Linked DNA regions of Homo sapiens: all the other regions are linked to region 3. The links are contacts of gene promoters, found by promoter capture Hi-C in human tissues and cell types (Jung and others, 2019). All regions are on one chromosome and are shown on one strand. Each heading gives the region's core, a stretch centred on a gene start or on the middle of the fragment in contact. The rest is flanking DNA. Distances are from core to core; before and after follow the strand shown.

The links. The method cuts DNA at HindIII sites, captures the fragments that hold promoters and counts their contacts. A contact is called where the count stands out against the background at its distance.
Region 1: a contact is called between a fragment that was not itself captured here and the fragment with the promoter of COL3A1 in region 3, in 1 of the 25 tissues and cell types used here (mesenchymal stem cells).
Region 2: a fragment that was not itself captured here is called in contact with the fragment with the promoter of COL3A1 in region 3 in 1 of the 25 tissues and cell types used here (aorta).

Annotation. Positions count from the first base shown.
Region 1 is chr2:188,657,899-188,662,734 of GRCh38, forward strand. All of the region lies in intron 1 of LOC105373790 (a long non-coding RNA gene), which reads left to right. Among named protein-coding and RNA genes, the nearest start is that of DIRC1, 130 kb to the right of the region's middle. The HindIII fragment of the contact is 3,716 bases long and covers 916-4,631 here.
Region 2 is chr2:188,580,903-188,585,280 of GRCh38, forward strand. It overlaps GULP1 (GULP PTB domain containing engulfment adaptor 1), which reads left to right. Exons shown (of 12, transcript NM_016315.4): 10 at 3,363-3,501. Among named protein-coding and RNA genes, the nearest start is that of DIRC1, 210 kb to the right of the region's middle. The HindIII fragment of the contact is 5,483 bases long and covers 1-4,378 here.
Region 3 is chr2:188,971,505-188,975,873 of GRCh38, forward strand. COL3A1 (collagen type III alpha 1 chain) reads left to right here and starts at 2,869. Exons shown (of 51, transcript NM_000090.4): 1 at 2,869-3,064. The coding sequence starts at 2,986. The region is part of intron 1 of LOC105373791 (a long non-coding RNA gene); the gene reads right to left. The HindIII fragment of the contact is 6,513 bases long and covers 1-4,369 here.

The DNA of each region.
Region 1 (4,836 bases), core at 1,524-4,023, 310 kb before region 3:
GTTATATTTTTATAGCAGAAGAATATTACAATAAGAAGATAATACATAATTTATGAAAATGTTTTCAGCTGTCATCAACACATAAAGATTAGAAAAAGTAGAATCTAAAGTTAATTACATTTTCTGTTTAGTTTGGATGGAAAGTAAATTGTCAATATGAAATTTAACTGTTTATCAAACTAACTGGGTAGGTATTTATCAATTAAAATATTGCCATTGTTGATTTTGTGATATGCCAAATTTTTCTAATATTTTAGGAGAAATTTAAAACTTCCAAACAATATTAATTTTGTTTTAAAATATATGATATACTTTAACCAAAATGACTTTATTCTAAAGATATTCTCCTCTAACAACATGGACCAGGACCTAAAAACTTGACCGATTAAGGTGTCAGCTGAAGGGATTTCAGAATCAAGATAATTATAGTGATAACAATGAAAATAATAGAAGATAGGAAAATATATATTCTAGGATTCATGGACTTTTTCAGTTCCTAAGGAAACCATGAATTTTTTTCTCGTTCCTAGGAAAACATAGATATACCATTGCTAAGAATTTATTTGTGCATGCTTTGAAGATCACAGGATTCTGTTAACAAACCAACCTAAAAAACTGTCCCCTTTGTTAGGAAAAGCATTTCCAGAATAATTTAATTTGTCTTTATGCTTGGAAAATGGAAAATAAGGGGAGGCATCAGTCATTGTACCCAAAATATTTTTCTTTTACTTTATAAAATTTATTTAGTTTCATTGTGCTTTTATTTCTTCAGGAATCTTCTTCCACTTCATTCATTCAGTGGTTGTGCTCCAAAAGTGTTTACAGATTTTTGTTTATCTTGTTATGTATTGCTTAAAATAAGGGCACATTGGAATTCTTAAAGTTGTAAGTAACAGAAATGGGCTTTATTTAGTCAGCTAAAAGTGAGTTTATACTAAGGATACAATAAAGAGCAAAGACGAACAGGAAATGATTACACTGTACAATCACTGATACTGATACAGTTCTTAACAAACTTAGCAGGAGAAAAGGAGAGAAAACACAAATAACCTCATAAACAATGAAAAAGGGAATACCATTACTGACCCTGCAGACACTGGAAAAGATACTACCACAAACAACTCCATGCACATAAATTTGACAATTTAGATGAAATAGACCAATCCCTTGAAGATACAAATTACCAATAGATAATCTGAACATTTATCAATCTCATACATGAAAATTATATATAAAAATTGTCTCCCTAAAAAAACACATTAGGTCCAGATGGCTTCGTGGGCTATTTATATCAAACAATTATGGATAAAAAAATATCAATTCTACAGAAATTATTTGAGAAAAGAGAGGAGGTTGGAATAATTCCCAACTCACTTTAGGATATATGCATTAGCCTGAAACCAAAACAAAACAGACATTACAAGAAATGAAAACTGCAGACAAATGCATCTTAAGAGGAGGATTTTTGTTTTCTAAAATGAGAGTAAAGTTACATAAAAACACTTAAACCTAAATAAAGTACTGGTAATCTAAATGTGTATATTTCACCTAAATTTAAATATCTTTATAGATATTTTTGTTAAAATGAAGGGCAGCAATTAATAATCTAAAACAGAAAATTATGAAGTTTTTTGAGAGTTTCTATTTCATTTTGCTCATTTTGGCACATGACACTAGATTTTTTCACTCATAGGAGACTAACCAATTAAAGTTGGATGCAGTATTTTAAGATTAATTTTGAAATTGAAATCCAAAATATTAATTCCTTAAAAAGTTTTAATACTTGAATGGTGTGGAGTGCAAGGTATGAGCATATGATAAGAAACTGAGATTAGGTAACTAGCTAAAGGAGAATGACAGTGAGATTAAGATGGAAGAGAACAGAAATTTTTTATAGTCTGAGTCATTGTATGCTTCATTGTAGTGTCCCCTGAAACTACTGTCCCATAGGATTTGCCCAGGGAGATGACTGGGTTAGAAGGAATTTCTGAGGGAGAAGGTTGAGTTAGAAGAAATTTTAATCTATTCAAGGGTCTGACTACAGTTGGGTCCAGTCTCCGTACATCAAGATTACCACATAGTCTTGCACTACATCTTGAATAGCCTCTTCTTGAGCCTGTCAAATATCAAACTTCTTAATACATTATTTCCCATTCTTTGTTCCTCATCTCACTGTACACCCCCATACCCAAATACCAGTGTATTACTAAAAAAGTAACTGAATTTTTTTAATTGCAGAAAATGATAATGCATATTGAAGATAGAATAAGGACTGCTCTTTGAAGAATTCAAACACATGCATATTTTAAATAACAAAATTGTTTACATTCCAGAATCCCTAGGCTTCCTTTCCTAATATACTTTGCTTGATGTTGCAAGTGCTTTAATGTTTGCAAGGAAAGGGGCCTTCATTTAAAGTTGACATGGATTCTTTCTTCTGGTTTTTTTTTATTATTATTATACTTTAAGTTTTAGTGTACATGTGCACAATGTGCAGGTTAGTTACATATGTATACATGTGCCATGCTGGTGTGCTGCACCCATTAACTCGTCATTTACGTTAGGTATATCTCCTAATGCTATCCCTCCCGCCTCCCCCCACCCCACAACAGGCCCCAGAGTGTGATGTTCCCCTTCCTGTGTCCATGTGTTCTCATTGTTCAATTCCCACCTATGAGTGAGAACATGTGGTGTTTAGTTTTTTGTCCTTGCGATAGTTTACTGAGAATGATGATTTCCAGTTTCATCCATGTCCCTACAAAGGACATGAACTCATCATTTTTTATGGCTGCATAGTATTCCATGGTGTATATGTGCCACATTTTCTTAATCCAGTCTATCATTGTTGGACATTTGGGTTGGTTCCAAGTCTTTGCTATTGTGAATAGTGCCGCAATAAACATACATGTGCATATGTCTTTATAGCAGCATGATTTACAGTCCTTTGGGTATATACCCAGTCATGGGATGGCTGGGTCAAATGGTAGTTCTAGTTCTAAATCCCTGAGGAATCGCCACACTGACTTCCACGGTGGTTGAACTAGTTTACAGTCCCACCAACAGTGTAAAAGTGTTCCTATTTCTCCACATCCTCTCCAGCACCTGTTGTTTCCTGACTTTTTAATGATTGCCATTCTAACTGGTGTGAGATGGTATCTCATTGTGGTTTTGATTTGCATTTCTCTGATGGCCAGTGATGGTGAGCATTTTTTCATGTGTTTTTTGGCTGCATAAATGTCTTCTTTTGAGAAGTGTCTGTTCATGTCCTTCACCCACTTTTTGATGGGTTGGTTTGTTTTTTTCTTGTAAATTTTTTTTGTTTCTAAAGCAGATTCTTTATTACGATAACTTGCACAGAGTGTGACAGTATAAGAATCTTATTAAGATAATGAAGATTTTTGATGTATAAATAAAATATGTTTCAAAATTTGCAGAAGCAGTGCTTAGAAGTTAAATTCTCTCACTATTGGTATCTTGGTAGAAATTGTGCATAATCTTAATATTTCCACATATACTGATCTCCATTTTAGAGATTGGCTTTAATAGTTAATAATAATTGATAAATCCAGCTTCTGGAACCTCATCTGGACAAAGATCACTGTTATACTTTGGGAAAATGAAGGAATGACTCACAATTTAACTTTAGGAGTAAGAAGTTTTGGGAATAGGCTCCATTTTCCTGCTCCCATCTACAAATTTTATAAACAAAGTAAGGAGAATGAATTCTAGGAACGATGAACATTCTCTGCCACATCATTAATCGTTCTTCATCCTACTTTCCTAAATATTATTGACAAATATTACTTGCTGATGTTAGTTCACAATTAATTATCTTTGACATTATAGGCTTATATCCATTTACAAATTCATGTACTGTCATTAATCTTATGATTTCATGAGAGAACAGATATTCATGCTTTAAAGCTTTCATTAGAAAATCTCTATGAAATTCAATAAACATAAATTCTTAAATAAACAGTAGACCATATGGTCAGTCGTTGTCAACAATGTAGTTAGAAAATTTTTGGTGTAATACCTATAAAATAAAATTTACTATTTTAACCATTTTAAAATGTACAATTGCGTGGCATTTAGGACATTAACAGCATTATGCAACACTATCTAGTTCCAGAGCATTTTTCATCACCCCAAAAGAAAATTCAATACCTATTTAGCAGTCATCCCACATTCTGTCTAATCCCTAGCCCTCGACAGCCATTATTCTGTTTTCTGTCTCTAGCACTTGTCTATTTTGGGTATTGCATATAAATGGAATCATTCTATACATGTCGTTTTGTGTCCGCCTTCTTTCACTTAGCATGTTTTCAAGGTTTATCTATGTTGCAACGTGGATCAGTACTTCATTCCTTTTTATGGTTAAATGATATTCCATGTAACCATTCCAAAATGGATATACCACATTTCGTTTATGCATTGATGGACAATTGAGTTGTTCTTATCTTTTGACTATTATAAATAGTGCTGCTGTGAACATTCTTATATAAGTTTTTGTTGAACACTTCTTTTAAATTCATTTGGATATATACTTAGGAGGGAAATTGCTGTCACATGGTAATTCTATGTTTAACTTATTGAAGAACTAATAAGCTGTTTTTCACAGTGGCTTCACCATTTTACATTCTCATCAGCAGATATGAGGGTTCTGGTTTCTCCACATTTTTACATTTTCCAGTTTTTCAATTCTAGCCATCCTAGTGATTGTGAATGTGGTATCTTGTTGTGATTTTGATTTGAAAAATACATTTTAAACAATATATTGATATATATGGAGAGAAAAAAGTTATAAAATGTATCTTATCAAGCTCAAATTTCTTT
Region 2 (4,378 bases), core at 924-3,423, 390 kb before region 3:
GAGGAATGTGGCTCCCGGCCAGAATCTTATGTGCGATCTTTCTGGCCCGAGCGTAGGCAGTTACAAAGGCTTTGCCTGGCACACCTCATCACATTGTATTTGGTGGGAGAAAGGTGCCCTCATCACATTGTATTTGGTGCACAGTTTGGAGGAATTGAATCTAGTACTCAGGTGCCCTGGCCAGCCATGCTCTTGTGCATATCTGCATTTATAGCCCAGGCAACTCCACTCAGGGGCCTCCTTTTAGGGGGCCTTAGGTGCCTCTCCTGAGACCACCTTATTCGAGGGTCTTGGAGACCACTTTTCTCCAGTATGACTCAGTATTCAGTACTTTTCTACTGCTAGCCCTTCCCTTCTCCCTCCTACCGTCTCTTGTCCGAAAAAAACCCTCAGGAACCTTTTGTTCAGGAGTCCCTAAGTAATGAGACAAAGCCTCACTTCTGCAGTGATACATCTGACCCTTGCTCAAGTGCCATTCCTTGGGGAAAATGGAGCATTGATGGAGCAGGCACCTTCTCTCTGGCCTCTTGCTTATACTATAGCAGTAAATGAATAAAGACTTAATTATTACTTCCATTTTGGCTGCTGTTTAATTGGCCACTGTGACATCTGGCAGCTCAGCTCTCTCCAGCTCAGCTCTTAACAGTAGCTTTCCATGTTGTAATGGAAATAGCCCCTAAAAGTCATGCACATACTGATGTTCAGACCTAGTACACTGCTTGCTTGTTATTCATTATCTCTCTGATTTATTTGAGATCCTTGTCAATCACCTCTTCCCATCACCCAAAAAGTCTTACAATTTGGAGCTCCTCATGACTATAGAAAGGGCATGATGACTAGAGTCAGACTGTTTTGAATTTTGAATCTGCTTTCTACCTCATACAAGTCACAAAGAATCTGTGGACCTTAATTCCCATGTATTTATTGTAATAAGGACATAATATCACTACTACTGATACTTCAAATAATGTTTTGAGGATTAAATATAAAATGTATGTTGTAATCCCTTTTGAAAATTCTACACAACCATAACTTTATGTACAAGAGTTTACTCCTAGTTCTGTAACTGTTCTCTCATTACTATCCTTCCTTTTTCCATTTCATTACAGAAGCCCTCTCCAAAATAAATCTTCAGGCTTTCTTCATGTTTCTCTCCATTACCTTCCTCTTAGGTCCCGATGAATGCAATATTCTATTTAAAATACCAAAAAATGTAATATTTCAGTAAAAAAAAGATCAAATTAAGCAATCCAGAATCTAAGGACTATCACATAGGAAAATCAACTCTAACTCTATGTTTTAATTTTAGAAAAGTTACTGTGAAATGATCTTATCATCTTAACAAAACACCATTTTACAAATAAATTTCAAGTATACTTTCTCCTTTCCTCCATGCCTGCCCTCTTAGGATATTTCTTTTTCTGTCATTCCTTTACAGCTGCTGCACAATATGTCTGATCATGAACAACATGTGTTTCAGAGATGCTCATCCTCTTTCTGGCGTAGTAATGGTGATTCATCTCCCTGTCTCAATATTTCTTCCATCTCTGTCACTCCTATCAACTCGCCTGATTCCAGACTATCACTGGGACTGTTAATACCACCACCTTCTAAATGTGGCTTTCCCAAGCCAGTCAGTGAGAGCAGCATCCCAAGACCTCATGTAATTTGCTAAGCAGATAATTCTTTTTTATTATCCCACTTATTTTGCTTAAATTCTGCCAAAATGTGCTATTTGTAAAGTTATCAAAAATTTAGATGTATCTTGAGTCAATGTGATGTGATCTGGAGCCTTTGTGTGCCATTGTTGTTTTCTTTGATTACCTGATACCAGAAAGTTTCAAGTAGAGGGTGGTGACAGTGTAGAAATTTACATACAGATACTTCAAAGGATCTATCAGATGTTGCAGTTGGGAAATTAGATCATTGGTAAGAGCAATTTCAGCAGAGTTCAGTGCAAAAAGAACAAATCTAGATTGATAAGAGTTAAAGATAGAATGAAGTAAATCTTAGGACAGAAAGTGTAGTATCTCTTTCAAGGAGCTTAGCCTTGAAGGAAAAAGAAAAACAGAATAGAGGCTGGAAGATTAAAGAGGGACAGAGTAAATAAATTTTTGATTGATTTGTTTTGCTTTTAATGACAGCCAAGATTTTAGAATTTTTGTATCGTGAAAAAGAGTAGAGATATAGAAGTGAGAGGGGATACAGGAATGGGATAATTAGGGGAATGGTATTGCTGAGTAACAGTAAAGGGGTGAGGGGATACAATAAACAAATTGTTAAAGAAAGGGGGATGACAGCAATTTTCCTGCATGAAAAATAATGTACTAGCAATTATTTTAGCTGAATAGCAAACCCATCATTCTCTACACACAATAAGCCTGATTTTTTCATCACCTGCACTACCTGTGAATCAGAAAATTAAACGTATTCTGAGAATTCTAATTTTAATATGAACTACTGGAAGCAATCTCTGTCCAAGTTCTCACAGGAAAAGCAAATTTTTCGCCACTATTCCCCCAAAATGGAAATTCTCTTTTATCCCTGATCAAATCAGATGGTTTTCAAAGGAGATTATACATATATACATATTGTTCCCTGTTTTACAAAGTGATAAATGTCTAATTTTGATATTACTTCTTGGCTACATTTTCATGAGATTTTCATTTATCTTTCCCTATATGTGTTCAGTCCTGGCCCAGACTGTATCAGAAAACTCAATGATTTGGGCAGTACACTGGCGATTATTAATTTAGTTTATAAGATTGCTATTTATTACAGAAAACTTGATGAAATCTTTCAGGAGTAAAATGTACTGCAATGAATATCAGTTGGTTCCCATTGTTGATATAAATACAAACTAAAATATACTCTACTTTTGAGAATGCAAAAAAAATCAATTGCATTTGAATGTTTATATTTAAGAAGGCAGGTCACTTATGTCTAATTATTCCAGTTTAAAATGTAATCTTATGCAGCGTATCTTACTGAAATCATATTTTTACATGAATAGTTTCTAATATATCTAATTCTCTGTTACAAGTAGCAGTCATTTCTATATATCCCAAAAATTCACTGTATCTTTTATATTCATCTGGAATAATATTGTCACCGTTTTTGCCATCATCTTTGAGAGCATTTTTACAGAAATTTTCTATTGCTTTCTTCTAAATGAGCATTTATCATAATTAGTGGAACCATATGAAATTGCGAATACTTAACTATTTTTGGTCTACAAAATGGCAAATTCTTATGATGCAACTGAAATTGTTGTTTACATATATTTTATATGCATATGAAATATTTAGCATTACAATGTGTCTATATGAAATATTACCCTAATTCATTTATTTTCATTGCAGGCAGGCAGTATGACACCTAAGTCGCCCTCCACTGACATCTTTGATATGATTCCATTTTCTCCAATATCACACCAGTCTTCGATGCCTACTCGCAATGGCACACAGCCACCTCCAGTACCTAGTAGATCTACTGAGATTAGTAAGCTTTCTCAACAAATCAAAGTTTCTTGTTATAGTTGCATACATTTTAAATATATAATTAAGACTTTGTGGGAAATTACATATCTTAACAACCTTACTTACAATTTTAATTATTAAAGTATTATTTTTATATTTGTATAAATTTCCATTAATTCTATTTTACTTTATAATTCAGACTACACTACTAATGACATCTCTGCTTGCAACTTTTACCTATTGTGTGAACAATTATGTTTTGGTGTATTACTTCATATTTAATTATATATCACTGTTTTGGGTTATATTTTTAATATTTTACTTTAACTTTTAAAAATAACTGGTGGTAATTAAATTGATCATTTTTTACATGTTTAATAGAGCTGGTTAAAATATTTTTGTTATCATAGGGTTTATGGACTTTTTTGTTAAAAAATATATAAATTATATCATGATTTCTTAACCTTTTGTAAGGGTTCTTTCCTATCTAAAATGCTATAAATTCATTGCTTTTCTGTTTTATCTTTTATATATCTGGAAGGAATATTAAAGTCTCTTTTTGATGAATTAGAAAACACCTATAAGCCTGTAAAATAAAAAGCAAGTTAGTTACTTGTAAAATACAATGAGCATACAGGCATTGGGTGAACGTTTCCATTCCAAATTGGAGAAATTGGCAAAGCGAAGGAGCCACAGGCCCCTTGCAAGTTTGAAACCCGGTGGGGCAGTCATTAAATCTTAAAGCTCCAAAATTATCTCATTTTACTCCATGTGTCACATCCAGGGCATGCTAATGCAAGGGATGGACCCCAAGGCCTTGGGCAGCTCCACCTCTGTGGCTCTGCAGGGTACAGCCCCCATAGCTGTTTTCACAGGCTGGCATTGAGTGACAGGCACAC
Region 3 (4,369 bases), core at 1,619-4,118:
TGGCCTACTGAGTTCATCACAGCTGTGCTTGTGCATCTCTCTCAAGCTCCACTTTCCACTGAATTGGAAAAGATTTGAATTTTTGGTTGATAATCTGCCACACCCTTGCTTTGCCTCATCTTTCCAGGCACTCTCTTTGTTAAAGGAGATCCAGATTAATCAGTGCTTTAGTTGGTGCAGGTATTTAGATTTGTGTTAAAGCTCCAAATGCAATCCAAAAAGCAAAATGACATGTTTATGTGTCCTGGTTAACATCAGTGAAGTCAGGGAAGTATGGGAAGAAATGTGTGGCTAGATAACAATGAGGACAGCAGTTCCTGGATGGCATAATAGGATTCAGAAGTGTATGCATTTCACCTAGTTCAGACCCTGTATTAAGAAATGCTTTGACCCCGTATTAGGAAATGCTTTGACAGGAGGTAGAAAAATAGGATCTGGGACACAGAATGCAAAGGATCCTAGTGCAAAACCTCCATATTCGAGGTAGTGAAGAATCGTAAATCAGAATATCTGGAGAATGAATTCTCTAGGTCTCTCCTGAAGACCTTAAAATACAACAATCCTTCCATATGCAAAACATCAGCTAATGTTTCTTAAGTGAGTGCATCAATCATGAATTTTTCTCATGAGTATAAGGCTTTTATTTGAATAGCTAAGCAAATTAAGAATTTTAGAACAATAGTAATTTTATTTATAATGCCTAAAATAAAGCATAACAAGCATTATTTTAAAAATAACATTTCTAATTTTTCACAGTGGAAAATAAATCTAATGAAGAAATTCAATAAATTTCAGCTTTTATAGACCACCTAAAACAATGAGAGAAATCTAATATAGATATATGAATTCTACGTAGATACAAAGACATCATGAGAAAAACTATGTTTCTGAATTGGTTTGAACACAGGAAATATTTTTTGTGTACAGGACAAAGATGTCTGAAAGACAGAAAGATGCATATAACAGCCTTTCCCCAGCATCTCTACTGTGATCCAGTAGAAAAGCTTATATTCATGACCATTCTCAACAGTTACTTTTCTCCCACGCCCCCAAGCAGTGACTCTCCAATCTAAAATAAAGATACACAAGAGGTTGGTCTCGTTCTAGTTTTCCTTTCCTGTCATCAAATGATGTCATCTACATTGAGATGTCTTGGTTTGTGTCCTTGTGACTGAAGATATAAGAAAGCTTGGGAGGCCGAGGCGGGCGGATCACGAGGTCAGGACATCAAGACCATCCTGACTAACACGGTGAAACCCCGTCTCTACTAAAAATACAAAAAATTAACCAGGCGTAGTGGCGGGCGCCTGTAGTCCCAGCTACTCGGGAGGCTGAGGCAGGAGAATGGCGTGAACCCGGGAGGCGGAGCTTGCCGTGAGCCGAGATTGCGCCACTGCAGTCTAGCCTGGGCGAGAGAGGGCGACCCCGTCGCAAAAAAAAAAAAAAAAAAGATGCAAGAAACAAGAAAGCAAGTTTGCCACTGTCCATGCTTACAGGATTCATGTACACCTGGGAATATACATATGACATGAGTTGAGTGAAAATTTAGTAACACAAATTAGAAGAAAGAGAAAGATGAAAATTAGTTTAAAGGAGGTAATTTACTTAAGGAGGAAAGTTTTGCATTGAGGCATAAGGAAGTGACTTCCATTAATTGGTGTGAAATGGGGAGAATTTTATGTGCACAGGCATAGAGACGGACATGTTTAGGTGAAGGTGAAGAAAATTAGTTCAAGTGACCTTGATTAGAATTGAAATGTCCACCGTAGATTATAGAGATAGATGAACTAACTATGAACTGATGATTAGGGTGTAAAGAGATATCTCCATTGCCAGATATAGCCTTATACTGTGGACAAGCATATTTTTCCTGCAGAGATTTATCAAAGACCTATAAATGGTATTTGCCCCTCTTTCAAATATGACACAAAAATTACTGCTTAGATAGATCCAGAAATACATTGGAAAGTTTTGTGGATGAGGATCTGGAAAGTATACACATAAAAGTCTAAATTAGAAATATTTATACTAATCTTTAGAGTAATGCAGAAAAAATGACCACTTTCTCTGGTACTCTTTTGCTATTCTATGTGATAAACTCTTTCTCTTCCAGTTTCCTAAAAAGTTATGTCATGAAAAGGCTGAATTTTTCTCTAGAAAAATCTGCTCTGTCTTTCCCAGGCAGCATAAAAATTGGAAATCTCACAAGAAAGCACTCTGGCTTGCTAAAGAAATTTGTGAGAAATGGAAACAGCTATAGATAAGTATCTAACTTTTAGGAAGCCATTCAAACATTGCTGAAATACTTTGTCTTTTGATATTTGCCTGAAACTTAACTTCTAGGACCCAGGGTGGGTGGATGAGTCGAAGGGGCATACGGTGGCATTTCTTTCCGTGAGTCTCTTACAGTCTCCTATTTAAATTGAGTTAGGATTACTTCTGGCAAAATCCCAACATAAAAATCTTCTAGGAAGATCAGTTCTGTAAATTAGACATACTAGATAAATGGGCATCAAGCAGTTTTTCAAAATTATGCAGTTGTTAACTTCATAAGGGGAAATAAAAATGTATGCATTTACATTGTATGTATTAAAACAAGGCAGAGCATTTCTATACGTTCCTAAGTTATACAAACATATATGTAAGAGTGAAATATGTAAAAAAACTTTTACATAAGCAGATGCATACAAACTCCAGATGTGCTCTTTTTCTTACTGTGGGTTGTGTCTTCTATAAGGGAAAAAGAAATATTTATCATTTCTTTTACTGCTGAGGGGATGGGTGCGGCTCTCATATTTCAGAAAGGGGCTGGAAAGTGAGGGAAGCCAAACTTTTTCCTATTTAAGGCCAAAGCAAAGGAATCTCAGTGGCTGAGTTTTATGACGGGCCCGGTGCTGAAGGGCAGGGAACAACTTGATGGTGCTACTTTGAACTGCTTTTCTTTTCTCCTTTTTGCACAAAGAGTCTCATGTCTGATATTTAGACATGATGAGCTTTGTGCAAAAGGGGAGCTGGCTACTTCTCGCTCTGCTTCATCCCACTATTATTTTGGCACAACAGGAAGGTGAGTAGGTACTGATTTCAAGAAACTTTATGGGATTTTTGTCTTTCTTCTCCTCACAAAGAGGGGTGTAAAGGGGAAAATCAGTTGCCTGATTCAAGATAATTTCCTCTATAAGCTCCAGATTGTGAAACGTTGAACTGACCATGGCTGTGCTTTTTACATTACTTGAAAAATAATCGCGTTATGTGTGTTTTTAAGAGTTCTGTGGTTAAGATAAGATGTTCTTGTACTAACTTGTTTTCATGTTAAAGGCACTGGAAACTTTTAAAAATGGCTTTAAAATTTTTCCCTCCTGGATTGTTAACATCTTGGAATACTTCCCCAGGCAGTCTGGAAGTTATTGGTCTCTTGCAATAATTTTATGTTCCTCTTTGTCTGCTGGATTCTTTGTAAGGTTAGAATATTGAGCATTGTTTTCTGAATAAGAATGCCTTTCAAATATCATGGATTAAGAACAGTCTAAAGGAAGATTCTACGCATTATCAGAATCATTGAATATATTTCTGTAAAATGGCTACAAGATACCTATAAACATTCTTCAAAGGGATCAAACTGCTAAAATATTTTATTATTCCTGTTTTTATTTTGTTTCAAGAATGATTGATTAATTCATCTTTTCTAGTAGCTTGATATTAAGGGACTAATATTTTCCACATATTCTACGTTTTAACCACATTCGCATTAATGAAGAAAATATTTTTTAAAATGTTTCAACAGGAGGTTTGACTTTGCTGCAAACAAGGTAAAGATACTAGTACTGTTTGACTTCAGAAAGCTGTTTTGCTATATTTTCTAATAATTGCATGTAATGTTTTTCATATTCTAATTTCCCCTAAAAACACATTTGTCTCATTATTTATGTGAAAATATTCTTTTATTTACCATAGTCATGAAAATGCTGAACAAATTGGAATACAAACTTCCATAGAAATAAATATTTAAGTGCTAAATGTAAAGATAGCTAGGAGAAATTATTAGACAATTTTTATTGCACATAACTAAACATGGTTACATTTAAACATATAGATTTTGCAAAGGACACTGCATGAAAATTTGGTTTTTGTTTGTAATATCAAATGTATTTGTTGTCCTCATAGCTAATACATGTAAATGTGTGTATGAGGGGAGGGGTAGATATACAATGAAATGTCTTCAGTTATATTCAGCCCATGGACACAAAAGAAAAGAAACACCCATTTTCCTTGTTCCCTTAATTTCCTCTCCTCCTTACCCCTCCTCTCCTTCGCTTTGCCCTCCTCCTTATCTCTCTCCACCCCTTTTGGCTCCTTTAGACTTCTCTTCACT